2 separate regions of the Homo sapiens genome follow, and region 1 is linked to region 2. Evidence: promoter capture Hi-C in human tissues and cell types (Jung and others, 2019). All regions are on one chromosome and are shown on one strand. The core of a region is centred on a gene start or on the middle of the fragment in contact, and the rest is flanking DNA. Distances in the headings are between cores, read along the strand shown.

Region 1 (2,700 bases), core at 103-2,602, 240 kb after region 2:
GTAACTTTTAAATCTAATTATAGATTCATCTAGAACTAAGCTTTAGCCCAGCTCCTAATTAAAGGATTTCTGAAAATCCGAAACAAAACAAAAAAGCATTAAAGATTAGACATTATGGGCTAAAACTTGTTTGGTTCCTAGAAGGTTACCAAAAAAGCTTTCAATACTGACAGCATTTTACAATTTTTCCTCAAAAGAAAAGTCTCTAGATGTAAAATTGATAAGCTTAATTCATAAAGCAAGTCACTGAAAATGTCTGGACACATTCACAGAGTGGGAGATTTAAATATACCTCTCTCAGAAATGAAGATTTTTTAAATGAGCAGAAATTAATGAAAAGGAAGACCAAAAAAAAAAAAAAAAAACTCAAGAGGGAAGATGAATTAAACCAAAAGCTGGTGCTTTGAAAATATTCATAAAATGGACAAGACATTTATAAAATTAAGAAAGAAAGAATTCCCAAGTAAATAATATTAAGAATGCAAAGAGGGATATAAATATTTTTATTCAGAGATTTTTTAAATCACAAGAATGTTGTGAACAATACTAATTATTTCTTAGAAATGTAAAATTATTAACACTGGATCAAGGTGAAAGAGGAAAATTTAAATATAACTATATAAAGATATTAAATTTGTAATAGTACTTTTAATATTTACTGACAAAAATAAGCTCAGACTCAAATGATTTAGCTGGTGAGTTTTAACTAACATATAAGAAACAAATAGTTCCTGAGAAAAAAAGAATAATTTTTTTAAAGGAGGGTGTGGAAGGAGCTTCTAAAACAAGAAAAAGAGCATGCACAAAATGAATCCTACAGACTAGTTTCAATTATGGACGTAGTTGCAAAAATCCTAAGTAAATTTTACAAACCCTATCCAGTACATATTTTAAAAATACTTCTGACCAAATTATACTCAACTGAGGAATGCAAGGATAGTTCAACATTAGTATATCTACTAAGGTAATTTAATCCATTAATATCTTCAGATTAAAAGTATTATAACTGATAGTATTTCTTCTGTGATAACCTATACTGTTTCTTATAGTGATTTTAATAGCTTTTGTGAGTGGAGAATGCTATCTATCCCTTTCCTAACCCCATAGAGCCTCACATAGCATCTTGCATATAATAGATTTTTAATAAAATTATCCATCTAGCATTGCATTGTCTTAGGTGATGCCATGTAAAATTCATTTCTTCATCTATTCACTCAGCAAACATTTATTTAGCACCTCCTGTTTGCAGACACTGTTAGGCTATGGGGAGATAGGCTGACTAAAATATATTCCTCAGCATATAAATCCTGCTTAAGAGGCACAGAGCATTTTAAAGACATTTAAAAAACATGTTTTAATGTAATTACTATAATAGGAGATGTGTACAAAATACCACTGTGGTATTTTAATTGTGGCTGATTTTAATTCTTTGGACGCCATTTCACTAAGGAAGTAACATTAATCTGGGTCTTTAAAAGTGGGCAAAGAAGAAGACCAAGATGGGGATGAAACCTTTCCATACTAAAGAGTTTCAACTTTACCTATTGAAATTTGGGAGTCATAGGAAGTTCTCATGCAGCAGAATGGCCTGTTCAGTTCTGTGATTTAGAAAGGGTCTCTGATGACAGAATGGAAGAAAGATTGGTAGGAATATTGGTAGACAGAAGACAGGAAGATTTCTTATGGGCCCATTGTAGTTAGTGAAAATTTTGCCTACAGAACTGGGCCTTGGAATGGTCAGCAATTGGCCAGAGTCAAGAGTCCTTGGGAAGTCAAAGGAGACAGGATCAGGGGATAGAGGGTGGGGGAGGTGTCATCAGTGGGACTTTCCCTTCCACTTAGGCCATTGGATGGGCAATTTGTTTCTCAGTGGTACCATTAAGGAGCAGTTGTTGGTTGGAAGGCAGAGGAGATGAGTCTTGGTTTGTCTGTGTTGAGTTTGTCATAGGACAGCCAAGTAAAGGTCTTCTGTAGGCAGATGGATATATAAGAACCTAGAGTACAGAGAAAGATGGAGTCCTAAAGTAAAGATCTGTGGATCAACGTCATAAATAAGTGATGGGCAGGGCCATGAGTTCACATTTGACGTTTATGTCCTCTTTTACCTCCCTAAGATCTCATTTAAAATATGTTTTCAGACTCAGCACTGAGGCTATCTCCACAGTGTAAATAGTTATTTCAGAAAGAAACAGAAAAGAGAGATCTTAGAAATACCACAACAATAGGCTCCGGTCTTCCAAATGTCCACGATCTATGATGGTGAACAGTGCTTGTCTAATACAGACATCTCTAGAATGTGTAAAATATGCATTCAAAGTTATTTGAATAGTTTTGTGCATTCTGTTACAATCTCCCTTACTAGTTTTCTTTTTCTTAGGCATCTGTATTAGTATTAGTCAGGGTTCTCTTGAAGGACAGAACTAATAGGACAGATGTATATATGAAGGGGAGTTTGTTAAGGAGTACAGACTCACACGATCACAAGGTAAGGCCTCACAATAGGCCATCTGCAAGTTGAGGAGCAAGGAAGCCAATCCAAGTCCCAAAACCTCAAAAGTAGGGAAGCCGATGGTGCAGCCTTCAGTCTGTGGCTGAAGGCCCGAGAACCCCTGGCAAACCATTGGTGTAGGTCCAAGAGTCCAAAAGCTGAAGAACTTGAAGTCCGATGTTCAAGGGCAGGAAACATTCAGCACGGGAGAA
Region 2 (2,700 bases), core at 169-2,668:
GCTCATGTAGATTGACTGAATGAATGAACAAAAGAAGTACACTGCAACGCTGGTTGGTAGTACGGTTAGATATGACACAGGGCTTGAACCAGGCCTGGTTTCCAGATCTGGTACTGAGATATGGCAGCATTGGGAAGGGGGCTGGAGAGCCTGTGCTTCCCACTAAGGTTTTTTAAAAAGAAAGTCCTGCACCTTGTTAGGAGGATCGACCTGGGTTTTGGGAACACTGCAAAACCTGCCGTGGGAGGGAACTCCTGAGAAAACTCCTCTGCAGTGGGAAGAGATGGTATGGAAGGCAGCTTCCTCAAATGCTGGATAACCGCCTCCTAGGAGTGGGTGCTCCGTCAGGAATCGGTGCGAGGTCGCAGGACCAGGATGGAATTTCTGCAGGTGGTCCTAGGTCTGAGCAGCACAGTAGAATCACCTGAGGCTTTGAAAACTATTGAGCTCCACGCATTGTGGGAAACTGAGTTAACTGGTGTCTGGGGCTGGCAATGTCTTTAACTCTTACTATTCTAATAAGTCCCCAAGGTTGGGAATCATGGTAACCCGCAGGGTGGGCATCAGCCATCCTCCATAGCTCCAGCCATTTCTGTCTGTGCGGGCCCCCTCGCTGCTGCTTTTCATGGTCTCCCTGAGGGCCGAGCGAGGCTGAAGAGGTGGGGTCAGCCCGGAACAAGGATGAGAAGGCAAGGCGCACCATTCTTTCATTGGTGTTTCTCCAAACACCCTGGGCTCCCCTGGCCTCACAGCCTGGAGAGTCTCATTCTGAAAGCGTAGGAGGGCGCCCGGGAATCTTTTTAACAAGCCAACCCAGGTGCTTCTTACAATCAGGAAAGTTTGGGGAACGTCACTGTACACCCTTTTCTGGGTCCAGGTCATGGAATGGAAACGTGAGCCAATCTATCAACGTAAAACCTAACACTGTTGATCAAAAGTAACGCCCAGGTGTCTTGTGCCTGCGAGTCCAAGCTTGTTTCTCGGGCGAGAGATGCCCCTTTGGGCGCTTAGGGCCGGGCGGGGTCGCGCGCCGGGCTGTGGGCCGCGGTGGAGACCTGACCCGCACTCCGAGGGTTCCCAGAGAGCCGGGGAGCGAGTAGCAGAGTCATCGTTTCCAGCTTCAGCCTGAAAAGCTGGACCGTGCCGCCGCATGTGCGCTTGGCAGCCGGGCGCCCCGGGCCCTGCGGCCACATCATCCTGGGGCGGGGACGTGTGCGCTCCGGGCGCCCGGACGCCACTGAGCCACGTCTGAGCCGCCCACCCTCGGGGGTGAGCGAGCCGCGGCTCGGGGCGGGACCCTGGCGGGGGGACCCGAGCGGTCTCTAGGACCCGCGGGACGCCGCCAACTGGCGGGGGTGCGGGGGAGACAATAATTTGTTCCGCGGTAATAAGAACGGTGACTGCTGGCCGTGGATCCATTTCACAGGCCTGCCTTCTCTCACTAACGCTCTTCCTAGTCCCCGGGCCAACTCGGACAGTTTGCTCATTTATTGCAACGGTCAAGGCTGGCTTGTGCCAGAACGGCGCGCGCGCGCGCACGCACGCACACACACGGGGGGAAACTTTTTTAAAAATGAAAGGCTAGAAGAGCTCAGCGGCGGCGCGGGCGCTGCGCGAGGGCTCCGGAGCTGACTCGCCGAGGCAGGAAATCCCTCCGGTCGCGACGCCCGGCCCCGGCTCGGCGCCCGCGTGGGATGGTGCAGCGCTCGCCGCCGGGCCCGAGAGCTGCTGCACTGAAGGCCGGCGACGATGGCAGCGCGCCCGCTGCCCGTGTCCCCCGCCCGCGCCCTCCTGCTCGCCCTGGCCGGTGCTCTGCTCGCGCCCTGCGAGGCCCGAGGTAAGTCGCCGAACTAGGGCGGCTCGCTGCCCGCCCCGCCGAGGGCACCGCACGCTGCGCCTGGGCGCGCCGAGGTCCAGGGCTGCCCCGAGGGGCGACGCGCCCCGGCGCATCTCCGGAGCCCCGGGGCTTGCGCTTCCAGCGCGGCGAGACCGACCCCCCCCCCCCAGGTGCCAATTCCTTGGGGAAGGGCGACACTTGGCCCGCAGCCCCACAGGAGCCAGTACCTGCCCCGGAGGGCACAGCCTCGGGACCGCTCCCCCGTCCTCACCCTCTTGGGTGACATTTGCAGATGTCTCTGTATCTTGACATTTACACGTGTCACTCGGGACGATGCGTGTCGGGTCCTCTTGCTGGCCCTATCCCGCAGTGAATATCCCCACCCCAGGCTCCGGGCCAGCCCTTCACCAGGTTTCCTTTCCAGCCCCGCCTCCCCCGCTAACACACTTAGGGGGGCGCGCAGCGGCCCCGCAGGTGAGGCAGCCCCCTCCTCCGCAGGTGTGCCTGCTGCTCTCCACAGCAGGCTCTATTTTCATAAACTGACTCTCTTACCTACTTCTTTAGTTTCCTCTCTGCCCCTCTTCCTGGCTTCCAGGTCACTCCCTAGCTGTCAGTCGCAGGCAAACTTTAGCGGAATTCTCCCTCCTTCCTCCACTCAGTTTCTCCGCCGTAAATAATCGCCCCCATCAACTTGGTGCACAGCGAGAACTTACTTAGTTTAACGTACTTAGTTTTACAGACTTAGGTTTTCCCGAGTTGTAGCCCCTTAAAATCGGGCACCTGTGGCTCCCGTTTGCACAGTGAGGACTCACCCAGCAGGTGCCTTTTTAAAAATCCGGCAACTTCCCCGGGTCTCCGCCGCC

The links. Contacts are between HindIII fragments. The study calls those that stand out against the background at their distance.
Region 1: a fragment that was not itself captured here is called in contact with the fragment with the promoter of ADAM12 in region 2 in 1 of the 25 tissues and cell types used here (mesenchymal stem cells).

Annotation. Positions count from the first base shown.
Region 1 is chr10:126,149,674-126,152,373 of GRCh38, reverse strand. The region is part of intron 4 of ADAM12 (ADAM metallopeptidase domain 12); the gene reads left to right. Among named protein-coding and RNA genes, the nearest start is that of FANK1-AS1, 180 kb to the right of the region's middle. The HindIII fragment of the contact is 3,274 bases long and covers 1-2,700 here.
Region 2 is chr10:126,387,195-126,389,894 of GRCh38, reverse strand. ADAM12 (ADAM metallopeptidase domain 12) reads left to right here and starts at 1,418. Exons shown (of 23, transcript NM_001288973.2): 1 at 1,418-1,837. The coding sequence starts at 1,750. The HindIII fragment of the contact is 8,947 bases long and covers 1-2,700 here.